Regions from separate parts of the Homo sapiens genome. Here all the other regions are linked to region 2. The links are contacts of gene promoters, found by promoter capture Hi-C in blood cells and fetal thymus (Javierre and others, 2016). All regions are on one chromosome and are shown on one strand. The core of a region is centred on a gene start or on the middle of the fragment in contact, and the rest is flanking DNA. Distances in the headings are between cores, read along the strand shown. Region 1 has its middle 31 kb from the start of FXYD5. Region 2 holds the start of CD22 (CD22 molecule). Region 3 overlaps ATP4A (ATPase H+/K+ transporting subunit alpha). Region 4 overlaps LOC124904701 (hepatitis A virus cellular receptor 1-like).

Region 1 (3,596 bases), core at 936-3,435, 140 kb after region 2:
AAATGCTGGGATCACAGGCGTGAGCCACCACACCTCATCACTGCAGCCACTATGGAAAACAGTCCAGTAGTTCCTCAAACTGTTAAAAATGCAGTCACCATTTGACCCAGCAATTTTATTCCTAAGAGAAATGAAAACTTATGTCCACATAATAACAAATACATAAGTTTATTTTCATATTATTCATAATAGCCAAAAGGTGAAAACAAAACCAAATATCTACAAACTGATGGAGGCATAAACAATATTTGGGGGGGCGGGGTCTGTAAAAAAAAAAACAAAAAAAACCCCAATATGTGGTAAATCCACACAATGAAATATTATTCAGCCATAGAAAGGAACATAGTACTGATACATGCTATGATGCGGATGAACCTTGAAGACATTACATTCAGTGAAAGAAGCCAATCACAAGACACCACATATTATATGAATACATTTATATGAAATGTCCAAAATAGGAAAATATATAGAGACAGAGAGTAGACTAGTGGTTGCTTAGGGCTGAGACATTTGGGAACAGGAGGAAAATAGCTATGGAGCATTGGGTTTCTTTTGTGGGGGTGATAAAAATATTTTAAAATTGGTCTGGGCACGGTGGCTCACACCTGTAATCCCAGCGCTTTGGGAGGCCGAGGCAGGTGGATCACGAGGTCAGGAGATCGAGACAATCCTGGCTAACATGGTGAAATCCCGGCTCTACTAAAAATACAAAAAATTAGCTGGGCGTGGTGGCGGGCACCTGTAGTCCCAGCTACTCGGGAGGCTGAGGCAGGAGAAAGGCGTAAACCCGGGAGGCCAAGTTTGCAGTGAGCCGTGATCATGCCACTGCACTCCAGCCTGGGTGACAGAGCAAGACTCTCTCTCAAAAAAAAAAAATGTTTTTAAATTGATCGTGATGATGGCTGTACATATCTATGGATATACTAAAAACCATTGACTTGTACATGATTTTTAAAAATTTTTAATTGCTGTGGGTACATCATAGGTGTATTTATTTATGGAGAACATGAGATGTTTTGATACAGGCATGCAATGTGAAATAATCAGATCGGCTTGTATGCTTTAAATGTGTGAACTGTATGGCATGTGAATTGTATGGTAAGCGAATTCTATTACAAAAATTAAAAAATTAAAATAAGAAAAAAGAGTTGCCCTTTCCATGACAGGAACAGTTCAATGTGGCTGGGCGCAGTGGCTCACACCTGTAATCCCAACATTTTGGGAGGCTGCGATGGGTGGAACACCTGAGGTCAGCAGTTTGAGACCAGCCTGGCCAACATGATGAAACCCTGTCTTCACTAAAAATATGAAAATTAGCTGGGTGTGGTGATGGATGCCTATAATCCCAGCTACTCAGGAGGCTGAGGCAGGAGAATCTCTTGAACCTGGGAGGTGGAGGTTGCAATGAGCCGAGATTGTTCCATTGCACTCAAGCCTAGGTGACAAGAGCGAGACTCTGTCTCAAAAAAGAAAAGAAAATTAAAAAAGAGACAGTTCGACGTAATTAATTAGCCATCAGCAGACTGGTTGATTGTCCTGAGGAATGGTGCAATAAATCATTGCTAATTATAGTCATCCTACAGTGCTAAGGAATGCTGGAAGTTATTTTTCCTATCTAGCTGTAATTGTGTATCCATTTGCCAACATCTTCCTATCCCCTTCAACCCCTATCCAGCCTCTAGTAACCACTATTACATTCTCTACTTCTATGATATCAACTTTCTTAGCTTCCACATATGAATGAGAATATGTGGTATTTATCTTCCCATGCTTGGCTTAATTCACCTAACATAATGTCTTACAGGCTCATTAATGTTGCCACAAATGACAAGATTTCATTATTTTTACGGTGGAATAGTATTCCATTGTGTATCTGTACCACATTTTCTTTATCCATTCATCTCTTGAAAAACACTTACGTTGATTCCATATCTTGGCTATTGAGAATGGTGCTGCAAGTCTGCCAGACTCAGAACTTACCCACCTAGACAGATCAAGCAAGAGTTTAGTAGGCTCCCCCATCTATTTCATTTCGAGGCATACCATGATAAAGTAGTGAATGCCAAAGGTCTCTTTGAGTCACATTATTCTTATTACTATTTTGACTTCACTATCAACTATAGTAACCATGCTTACCTTATCTTTGGCATATAAGTACAGATATCTCTTTGACATACTCATTTCCTGTCCTCTGAATATATACCCTAGAGTGTATTGCTGGATCATAGATAGGATAGTTCTATTTTTAGGTGTTTTTAAGGAGCCTCCATACTGTTTTCCAGTATGATTGTACTAATTTACATTTCCACCAACAGTGTATAAGAGTTCCTTTTCCTCTGCATCCTTGCCAGCTTTTGTTATTTTTTCTCTTTGATAACAGCCATTCTAAGTGGAGTGAGATGATATCTTATTGTAGTATCAATTTGCATTTGCCAGATGATTAATGATGTTGAATATTTTTCATATATACTTGTTGGTCATTTGTATGTCTTCTTTTGAGAAATGCCTATTCAGATAATTTGCTGATTTACTACTCCTTGAGGATTTCTTGTAAGGCTACTTTAGTGGTAATAAATTCCCTCAGTTTTTGCTTGTCTGGGAAAGACTTTATGACTCCTTCATTTCTAAAGGATAGATTTGCTGTTACAGTATTCTTGGCTGCCAGGTTTTTTTCTTTCATCACTTAGAATATATCATCCCATTCGCTCCTGTAATATAAGGTTTCTGCTGAGAAGTCTTCTATTAGTCTAATGGGGATTCCCTTATATGTGACTTGATGCTTTTCTCTTGCTGTTTTTCAAATTCCCTCATGGTCTTCAACTTTTGACAGTTTGACCAGAATGTGCTACAGAGAGGACCTTTTTGGGTTGAATCTATTTGGGGACTTTTGAGCATCCTGAATCTGGATGTCCATACCTTTCCCGAGACTTTGGAAGTTCTCAGCTATTACTTTATTACATAGGATTTCTGTGTCTTTTCTCATCTCTTTTCCTTTTGGAAATTGGAATATCTGTTTGCTTAACAATGTCCCATAGGTCTTGTAGGCTTCCTTCATTCTTTTTTATTTTATTTTTTGTCTGATTGAGTTATTTCAAAAGAGACCTGTCTTCAAGTTTAGAAATTCTTTCTTCTGCTTGACCTAGTTTGTTGTTGAAGCTCTCAATTATATTTTAAATTTCATTTATTGGCCGGGATCGGTGGCTCACGCCTGTAATTCTAGCACTTTGGGAGGCTGAGGTGGGCAGATCACCAGGTCAGGAGTTCGAGACCAGCCTGGCCAACATGGCGAAACCCCGTCTCTACTAAAAATACAAAAATTAGCTGGGCATGGTGGCAGGGGCCTGTAATCCCAGCTACTCAGTAGGTTGGGGCAGAAGAATTGCTTGAACCTGGGAGGCAGAGGTTGCAGTGAGCCAAGATCATGCCATTGCACTCCAGCCTGGGTGACAAGAGCAAGACTCTGTTTCAAAAAAAAAAAAAAAAAAATCATTTATTAAGTCTTCAGCTCCAAAATTTATGTGTTTTTTTTTATGATATCCATCTCTTTACTGATTTTTTTTCATTCTGATCATGAACTGTTTTCCTGATTTTTT
Region 2 (3,156 bases), core at 1-2,500:
GGTACTCATCATGTCACATGCAAAAAACATCTTCAAGGTCACATACACTTGAGAAAGGCAGGGTAAAAGAGTTAAGTAAGATTCTTTTTTTTTCTTTTGAGACAGAGTCTCATTCTTCTGTCGCCCAGGCTGAAGTGCAGTGGTGTGATCTCAGTTCACTGCATCCTCTGCCTCCAGGGTTCAAGTGATTCTCCTGCCTCAGCCTCCTGAGTAGCTGGGACTATAGGCATGTGCCACCACACCCGTCTGATTTGTTTGTTTGTTTGTTTGTTTTAGTAGAGATGGGGTTTCACCATGTTGGCCAGGCTGGTTTCAAACTCCTGACCTCAGGTGATCCCCCCAACTTGGCCTCCCAAAGTGCTGAGATGACAGGCGTGAGCCACCGCACCTGGCTTAAGTAAGATTCTTTACTGCAGGACTTTAAAAACCTTTCAGTAAACTCTATCTACACCATTAATCTCTAGACATGGGGATTAGAGTATAGTATAATACATTGTCCATACTTCTTTGGCCATGGGATCTATTTTACATGTTCCATAAAAAACTTAGCAGGGTTGCAGAGCCAGAGTTCTTTGAAATCCCCTTAAGGTTACCTAAGGGGTAACAAGGGCTGTGGCAAGGACTAGACTCCGTTCCCTGCAGCCAACACTTGCCTCCAGGAGCCGGGCCATTGTCCCTCCTCTGCCAGCACCCTCCAGCCACAACCTGCTCTGGGACGGGCTGGAGCATCCCAGCATGAGTGGGAGATGGGCGCCTCCAGAGCAGGACTGTGTGCTGCCTCAAGGAGCTCCAGGAGTCTCTGGAGCACAGGAGTAGGGCCCCAGGCCCGGGAATTGGAAGGCTGAGGGTGGGGTGGAGGTTAGGGACAGCAGTTATTATGCACAGAGGCTCAGGACAGGGCCATGCTGTCCAGACCTCCTCAGTCCAGGCCTGTTGAGGGCCTTGCAGAACCTTGGGGCTGACCTCCCTGGCTCCTTCTTCCCTCCTGGGCATCCAATAACCTACCCTACTCTCAGAAGACTCAGCAGGCCTGGCAAGGAGGATGCTCAAGACAGGGGTCTGTCTACAACCTGTTGTAACACCGGTAAGAGAGAGCCAGGGAGGTCCCCACTGTGTTCCCAGCTCTGGGAGGTATGCCTGGCCCATAACTGCTGTTCCGTAATAACTTGCTTGTTGAATGCAAAATAAAAGCAAAATGATTTTTACCTGTTTCCGCGTGTCTTCCCTCTTCAGGGACCCTGGCAGCATCTGAGAGCAAAAGGAGAAGTACAGTAAAGTCTCTGGTGACAGAGGTTTCCCCTCCATGGCCACACCCCCTGCTTCTCTATGGCTCTGAGGGGGACCAAGCAGCACCGTGATCTGGGGAGTGGGGAAAAGAGACGATTGAGGGGGATGCGGGCTCGGAGTCAGATTGGAAGACTCGAATACGTATGGGCAGTTCTTCCTTTCCGTGTATGGGTTTGCAATATCAGATCAGTTTCAGAATGGGCTCCTCCACAACTCCCCCTCTACCCAGCTCTCAGGAAATGCGAATGACTCAAGCCAAGCAGGAGAACTGCAGCCCGCTGAAAAAGGCACAGGCCTACCTGAAAGTATTTGTAGTTTAGTGACACCATCCAGTTATTACCATTTCCACTCTTTTCATCATAGGCATAAATGGTGGGGAATCTGACCACCTACACTGAAGCCCCCAAGGGTTGAGGGAGGAGCACATAGATATTGAGGAGGAAAAAGATATCTCGGCCGGGTGCGGTGGCTCATGCCTGGAATCCCAACACTTTGGGAGGCTGAGGCGGGTGGATCACTTGAGGTCAGGAATTCGAGACCAGCCTGGCGAACATGGTGAAATTCCGTCTCTACTAAAAATACAAAAAATTAGCTAAGTGTTTTGGCAGGCGCCTGTAGTCCCAGCTACTCAGGGGGCTGAGGCAGGAGAATCACTTGAGCCCAGGAGGCGGAGGCTGCAGTGAGAAGAGATCACACCACTGCAGTCCAGCCTGGGTGACAGAGTGAGACTCTGTCTCAAAAAAAAAAAAAGAAAGAAAGAAAGAAAGAAAGAAAAAGAAAAGATATCTTGTAGGACTGGGCATGGTGGCTCATGCCTGTAATCCTAGCGCTTTGGGTGGCCAAGGCGGGTGGATTGCCTGAGCTCAGGAGTTCAAGACCAGCTTGGGCAACATGGTAAAACCCCATCTCTACTAAAAAAAAAAAAAAAAAAAATCCAAAAATTAGCTGGGTGTGGTGGCGGGCGCCTGTGGTCCCAGCTACTCAGGAGGCTAAGGCAGGAGAATCACTTAAGCCCGAGAGGCTGAGGTTGCAGTGAGCAGATCGCGCTGTGGCACTCCAGCCTGGGTGACAGAGCCAGATCCTGTCTCAAAAAAACAAAAAAGATATCTTGTAGGAAGTGTTATTGAATGGAGAGTCTTTAGGCTGAAACCTCATCACCTTTATAATCCTGTAGCCAGCGAGTGTCTCAGGAGCAGAACAGACAGCATTGGAAGCCATGCACATCCTACAGATGAAGAGGGATGCGCTGAGAGGTCTTCACTCCAGCACCACTGCCCTCTATGGGCAGCTGGCCATAGGGAGGGAAACAGAGAGAGGGAAGAACACCTTCTTCCAAAAGCACCGATAGGGCTGGGTGTGGTGACTTATGCCTGTAATACGCTTTGGGAGAGCAAGGCAAGAGGATTGCTTAAGGCCAGAAGTTTGAGACCAACCTGAACAACACAGCAAAACTCTGTGGGGCTAGTCAACAAAAGCAAAAAATGAAAAGTAGCTGGGCATGGTGGCCCATGCCTGTGGTCCAAACTACTTGGGAGGCTGAGGCAGGAGGATCGCTTGAGCCTGGGAGTTCAAGGCTTCAGTCAGCCATGATAGCACCACTGCACTCCAGCCCAGGCAACAAAGTAAGACCTTGTCTCAGTAAATAATAAATAAATAAAATGAACAAAAAGCAGTGATGTTCTGGAAAGATGGAGTAGATGTATTTATTTATTCTGCCAAGTATAACTGAAAACCTTGAACGTGACAAGACAAGCATAAGAAGACTGAAAGATGGAGAGAAGCAGACTGGTTAGGAACCTCGGGACTTAAGGAATGGTGGTGAATTCCCTGGGATTTCTCTTTGCCTCATATATCTCAGGCTGAATACTG
Region 3 (3,374 bases), core at 554-3,053, 230 kb before region 2:
CCTTCACCCTTCCCCGCAGCTCTCAGAGCCCGCACCGAGCTCTCGGCCCCGCCCCTCTCCTCAGCCCCGCCCCGTTCCCTCGTCCACAGCCCCGCCCCGTTCCCCCGTCCACAGCCTCGCCTCTCCCCCCCGCCCACAGCTGTCCATCCATACGCTGGAGGACCCGCGGGACCCGCGACACTTGCTGGTGATGAAGGGCGCCCCCGAGCGCGTGCTGGAGCGCTGCAGCTCCATCCTTATCAAGGGCCAGGAGCTGCCGCTGGACGAGCAGTGGCGCGAGGCCTTCCAGACCGCCTACCTCAGCCTGGGAGGCCTGGGCGAACGCGTGCTCGGTGAGACCCCTGGGCAGGGGAGGAGACTCCAGGTGCGAGGAGGAGCTAGCACAGACCCTGCCCACCACTCCCGGCCCAGCCCTGACCGTCCTCATCCCTGGCTGCTGGCTGATTTGTCGCAGTCCACAGCCTCACCCTTGACTTTCCCTGTACCAGTCCTGACCCCTGTCTGTCCTCACTTTCTACCTTGACCCCAGTCCTCACCTGGACTTTTATCCGTATCCTGACCTCTAACCTCTCCCAATTTTTGTCCTGACGCCTTAAACTTCGCTGCCTCTACCCTAGAAAGCAGATCTGTGGTCCAATTCTGGGCCTTTTACTTGCTGTGTGACCTCTGGCAAGAAATGTCCCCTCTCTGAGCCTCAGTTTCCTCATCTGTAAGATGAGAATGGGCCTCACAGGGTGGTTGTGAGGGTAGATTCAGATAATGTGAGTGAAGGGGTCAGCACAAGGTCAGGCATCCATAGGTGTTTGGTGCAAGGGGCCTGGTTATTTTACCCATTTCCTGGCCCTGCTAAGAAAGGGTGTGCCCAGGGCTCTTCCCTGACTTCCCCGTTTCCGGTCAGGCTTCTGCCAGCTCTACCTGAATGAGAAGGACTACCCGCCTGGCTATGCCTTCGACGTAGAGGCCATGAACTTTCCATCTAGCGGCCTCTGCTTTGCGGGACTTGTATCCATGATTGACCCACCCCGGGCCACCGTCCCTGATGCTGTGCTCAAGTGTCGCACCGCAGGCATCCGGGTATGCCACTGTGGGGAGGAACAAGTGGAGTGAGGACAGAGGATGGCAGCAGGATTTGGGTTGAAGAACCCCATGACAAACCCACCTGAAACTGGCTTGAACCAAAATGCATTGGTTTATGATACTGAAAAATTCTGGGGAATTAAGCTTCAGGTCTAGCCAGATCCAGGAGCTCAGTGTCATTAGGAATTTTCCTTTCTCCATGTCTCAGCTCTGCTGTTCTCTTTGCTGGCTTTATTTGCAGGCACTCCCTTCACTTGGGGACACACACACCCCTGCTCCAGCAGCTCAAACTTAACTCCCACCTGCTTAGCCACCCCACAAAAAGAGAGTGCCTCTTTTGCAGTAGCACTGGATTGGGTCACTCATTTATCCCTGAGCCAGTCACTGGGGCTGGGGGATGGAAGACCTTGATTGGCCAGGTCTGGGCTTACTTACCCAATCTTAGCCAGGGACCTCACTGCAACTGATGGTGTAGGGGAGAGGAGTGGTTCCCCAAACACAAAACAAGGGTGGGAAAGCCAAGGCCAGGCAGGCAATGCCCAAGCCCTTCCCGTGTCTCTACGGCCCTGTTACATCGGGCCTTGTTACCTTTCTAAGCTTGTTCGTTAGCCCTCTTTCCTTGTTCACTCCTCTGCAGTTATGGTGTCCTCCCTGCTGTTCCTCCGACAGTTCGGGCCTGTCCTCACCTCAGGGCCTTTGCACCTGCTGTTCTCCCTGCCAGGAGCACTCTTCTCCCAGCTTTCCACGTGGCTGACTCTCTCACCTCTTACAGGTCTCTGCTCAGATATCACCTTCTCAATAAGCCCTTCCCTGGGTACACTTAAAATCGAGTCACCGTTTCCTTCACCAAGCTTAATATGTTTTTTTCCACTTTCTAACACACTATATAATTCGTTTCTTTATTTTCTGTCACCCTCACTAGAGCTCCTCAAGGACAGGGATTTTTGTCTCTTTTGTCTCTGCTATATCCCAGGCACGTAGGAGGTGGTCACGCTTGGTCAAGTAAATGAACACGTGTATCAGCAGATGTCTCCCAGGGAGGACAGGGAGATTGGGCTGATCTGAAGGGGTCAGTGATCCACTGGTTCCCCCTACAGGTGATCATGGTAACGGGTGACCACCCCATCACCGCCAAGGCCATTGCAGCCAGTGTGGGCATCATCTCGGAAGGCAGCGAGACAGTGGAGGACATCGCTGCCCGCCTCCGTGTGCCCGTAGACCAGGTTAATCGCAAGTAAGCCCCCCCAGACCTCCCCGGGGTTCTCCCCACATCTGGCACAGACCGAGGTCCCAGCGAGGTCCTCCCATCTCCTCCCCAGGGATGCCCGTGCCTGTGTGATCAATGGCATGCAGCTGAAGGACATGGACCCATCGGAACTGGTCGAGGCCCTGCGCACCCACCCCGAGATGGTGTTTGCGCGCACCAGCCCCCAGCAGAAGCTGGTGATCGTGGAGAGCTGCCAGCGGCTGGTGAGCCCTGCTGATGAGGGTGGGCAGGCGGGCAGACAGGCGGGGCTGGTCTTGGACCGGCCTCTCACTGACCACCCACCCACCACCTGCACCCACTGCCTGCAGGGTGCGATTGTGGCCGTCACGGGGGATGGTGTGAATGACTCCCCAGCTCTGAAGAAGGCAGACATCGGAGTAGCCATGGGCATCGCTGGCTCAGATGCTGCCAAAAATGCAGCTGACATGATCCTGCTGGATGACAACTTTGCCTCCATTGTGACAGGCGTGGAGCAGGGTCCGAGCCACGCCAGGGGGAGGGCAGGCAGTGTGGGCACAGGAGGGAGAGGGCTGTGAGGAGGCTGAGGTGCCCACCCTACCCCACAGGTCGACTGATCTTCGACAACCTGAAGAAGTCTATTGCCTACACATTGACCAAGAACATCCCAGAGCTGACACCCTACCTCATCTACATCACCGTCAGCGTGCCCCTGCCCCTCGGGTGCATCACCATCCTCTTCATCGAACTCTGCACTGACATTGTAAGTCCACAGCCCAGGGTACCCATCCACAGGGTGCCCAGAGACACTTGCTTGCAGATGGACAGGAGGGACAGAGACCACCACAGACACTCTTGGGCACAGAGTGACAGACAAGACCTGTGTGTGCAATGACAGCCAGTGCAGGACACATGGGTGGCAGGCAGGTGAACAGACCTAAATGGACATACAGCCATGCACACACAGGCGGACACTCAGGTAGGCCCGGGCCGACCCATGCACACACATGACTCAGATACAGATACTCAGACAGAGATGGAAACAGAACAGGTATCTGGCCAAACTTGAATC
Region 4 (3,301 bases), core at 782-3,281, 230 kb after region 2:
ACACGCACCTCTGATCACAGGGGGCTGCAGGCAGCACCTCAGTACCCAGGCGGATATAGCGGCCCTGCAGGTGGCAGCCGCAGCAAGCGTGGGGCACCGAAGATGCCCGCCTCCAGGGCAAAGCCCTCGAGGCAGAAGCAGCTCACTGTGCACTGGAGGGTGCAGGGCGCGGAGGAGTTGAGGCTAGCACAGGTGGCCGGGAAGGGTGGCCCACAGGAGTCATAGTAGCTGTTGGCTGGACACGCCACACCTGGGGGAGGGGAAAGATCGCCCAGAGGCCACAACCCTGAAACCTTTGCTCCCTCAATTAGAGGGAGAAAAAAATCAGGGTGAGTGCAGGGGAGGGAAGGGCAGGAATGAACCACAGGACGATTCCCAAACTGCCACTGTTCTTTTTTTTTTTTTTCCAGACAGGGTCTTGCTCTGTTGCCCAGGCCAAGTGCAATGGCATGATCTCAGCTCACTGCAGCCTCCCGATTGTTCCGATGAAACTTTTAACCACGTGGTTTGTTATGCATGTCACACCCACAGGCCACTTCAAACTTGCAGCACACAGTGAGCAACTCGGACAATATAGGGTCCAGTGCTGGGAGGTGAGAGGTAGGATTAGGAAGGGCCCAAGAGGAGCCCTGGTCTGGCTTGAAGCTTGGGTTAACATCCTAGGCAGGGCTGGGGTCTCCCTGGGGATGAGGGCTTCCGATCCACCGGCGAAGGAGGCATCCTAGCTAGCCAAGTGGGGAGGCCATCGTTGGAGCTGGGGGCGGTGAAAGGGAAGGAGCACGTAACTGCATCCCAGGCTGGCTCGCCACGCGGGCAGGCAACGCGCAGCGCAGGGCGCAGAGTTGGACGTAGGCCTCCAGCATGGTGCACAGCATGCGGTTGCCCGTGCCATACTGGCAGAGGTCAGAGACACACACCTGCGTGTAGGACACGGGGCTCTCATACCAGTGGCACTTGGCCAAGGGCCCGGAGCGGTTTGCCAGAACACTGCAGAGCTGCTCCACCCGGGGCCTGTCCTGGCAGGGCTCAGCGCCACCAGGGTCCCGCCGGCAGCTGGGGGATCACAGGACTCAACACCACCACCTCCAAGCCTCCTCCTCCTCCTGCCTCCCCCCTGGCCACCCTTGGCTAGTCCTCCTCTGCCCGCACCAGGTTCTCCCTCCCAGCAGCTGACAGCTCCTGGTGCAGTTTTAGACACGTTTAAAAACCTCAACCCCATAGTAACAAATGATTTTCATACAGTTACTCAACATGAGGGAGTCATTAATTTTTTTTTTTTTTTCGAGACAGAGTCTCGCTCTGTCACCCTGACTGGAGTGCAGTGGCGCGATCGCAGCTCTTGGCAACCTCTGCCTCCCGGGTTCAAGCGATTCTCCTGCCTCAGCCTCTCAAGTAGCTGGGACTACAGGTACCCACGACCACAGCCGGCTAATCTTTGCATTTTTAGTAGAGACGGGGTTTTGCCATGTTGGCCAGGCTGGTCTTGAACTCCTGACCTCAGGTGATCTGCTCACCTTGGCCTCCCAAAGTGCTGGGATTACAGGTGTGAGCCACCACGCCCAGCCAGGATAGTTATTAGTTAGATCCTGGATTCTGGAACCAACTTTGTTAGCTTCAGATCCCAGCTCTGCTACTTGGACGAATCCCCAAGTCTGTGCCATCCAATACCGCAGGCACTAGCAACCAGAGGCTACCGAGTATTTGAAATATAGGTAGTGTGACAGAAGATGTTTAATTTAATTTACACATAAATTTAAATAGCACGTGTGTTTGGTGCATTGGACTTTGCAGGACTAAGGTCTCAGTGAAGGGAGACTGGCACGGTGACTCATGGCTGTAATTCCAACACTTTGGGAGGCCGAGGTGGGCAGACCACTTGAGGTCAGGAGTTCAAGACCAGCCTGGCCAACATGGTGAAACCTCATCTTTACTAAAAATATAAATATTAGCCGAGCATGGTGGCGTGTGCCTGTAATCTCGGCTACTCGAGAGGCTAAGGCATGAGAATCACTTGAACCTGGGAAGCGGAGGTTGCAGTGAGCCGAGATCGTGCCACCGCACTCCAGCCTGGGCGACGGAGCAGGAATCAAAAATAAATAAATAAATAAATAAATAAATAAGGTCTCTGTGAGGAGTGCTTCCTGTTTCCCCTGTGAGAGGTGGGGGGGTGGAGTATTTAGGATCAGGGACCCTGAAGCCAGAATGCCTGGACTCAAATCCCTGTTCCACCATTTTTTTCCCCTCTTTTTTGATAGGGTCTCGCTCTGTCACCCAGGATGCAGTGCAGTGGTGCCAGCATGGCTCATGGCAACCTCGAACTCCTGGACTCAAGAGATTCTCCTGCCGCAGCCTCCAAGTAGCTGAGAATACAGGTGTGCACCACCACCAGGCCTGGCTAATTTTTTTTTTTTTTTTTTTAATAAAGACGAGATCTTGCTATGTTGCCCAGACTGGTCTCAAACTCCTTAGCTCAAGTGATCCTCCTGCCTTGGCCTCCCAAAATGCTGGGATGACAGACAAGAACCACCATGCCCGGCCCGTTCCATCATTTCTTATTGTGGGAACTTGGGCAGATGCTTCGCCCTTCCATGCCTCAGTCTTCCCCATCCGTGAAAGGGTATAATCATTGTTCCTGATTCTACCTGAATCAATCTCCTGAGAGTTGTGTGTGCAATTCACACCCTCTTCTTCCACCTTTCTGTTCTCAAAGCCTGCCTGTCTGCCCACTGTTTTCCCTGAGCCCTGTATTTCTCCCAACCCGGGCCCTTCCTGGTCCCAGGCAGCCACCCACCCAGGCCGGCTGTCCTGGGTCCACCAGGCGTTGCCAAAGATGGCATCACTGAGGGTGGGCACCCTGCTGGGGAGCACCTTGTCATCACTGGGGTCGCCACTGAAGTTGCCACAGAGTCCGCAGAGGTGGCTCCAGAACTCAGGCCCCACGCACACCAACAGCATATTGTGGCCATTGAACTGTACCTGGAGCCAGGTGCCCACCTGCAGGAGCACCAGGCCCTGCTTACCGCCTGGCTGTCCACCTGCAGTGCAGGGGAAGAGCTCAGGATCCATTTCCCCCTACCATCTCCCACCCCCTAGTGCCATCCATACACTCCTCATGACCCCACAGCAGGTAAGGTGTATGAATCTCCAAGCCGAGCTGTCTGCTCCATGCCACCAAGGACCTCACACCTCACACTGCCAAGTTCACCTTAGCCCCTTCCCCTTCGTTTCCCTTCCCTTACTTTTCTCATCCACTTGCCTGGCTTTAAACCCCAGCTGTATTCTGACAATTCCCAAATGCCCT

Evidence for each region. Contacts are between HindIII fragments. The CHiCAGO score rates a contact against its expected background, and 5 or more counts as called.
Region 1: a fragment that was not itself captured here is called in contact with the fragment with the promoter of CD22 in region 2 in 1 of 17 cell types (monocytes); the score reaches 7.9 in monocytes.
Region 3: a fragment that was not itself captured here is called in contact with the fragment with the promoter of CD22 in region 2 in 1 of 17 cell types (M1 macrophages); the score reaches 6.8 in M1 macrophages.
Region 4: a contact is called between a fragment that was not itself captured here and the fragment with the promoter of CD22 in region 2, in 1 of 17 cell types (total CD4 T cells). The highest score is 6.1, in total CD4 T cells.

What each region holds. Positions count from the first base shown.
Region 1 is chr19:35,183,592-35,187,187 of GRCh38, reverse strand. No RefSeq gene overlaps it. Among named protein-coding and RNA genes, the nearest start is that of FXYD5, 31 kb to the right of the region's middle. The HindIII fragment of the contact is 8,299 bases long and covers 1-3,596 here.
Region 2 is chr19:35,327,281-35,330,436 of GRCh38, reverse strand. CD22 (CD22 molecule) reads right to left here and starts at 1,250. Exons shown (of 14, transcript NM_001771.4): 1 at 1,207-1,250. RefSeq lists enhancers at 504-553, 624-673. The HindIII fragment of the contact is 19,927 bases long and covers 1-3,156 here.
Region 3 is chr19:35,554,613-35,557,986 of GRCh38, reverse strand. It overlaps ATP4A (ATPase H+/K+ transporting subunit alpha), which reads left to right. Exons shown (of 22, transcript NM_000704.3): 11 at 140-332; 12 at 899-1,074; 13 at 2,175-2,311; 14 at 2,397-2,547; 15 at 2,653-2,821; 16 at 2,911-3,065. Among named protein-coding and RNA genes, the nearest start is that of ATP4A, 7.4 kb to the left of the region's middle. RefSeq lists an enhancer at 1-51. The HindIII fragment of the contact is 254 bases long and covers 1,677-1,930 here.
Region 4 is chr19:35,096,497-35,099,797 of GRCh38, reverse strand. The region is part of intron 1 of LOC124904701 (hepatitis A virus cellular receptor 1-like); the gene reads right to left. HPN-AS1 (HPN antisense RNA 1) reads left to right here. Exons shown (of 4, transcript NR_024562.1): 2 at 411-593. Among named protein-coding and RNA genes, the nearest start is that of HPN-AS1, 8.2 kb to the left of the region's middle. The HindIII fragment of the contact is 2,767 bases long and covers 648-3,301 here.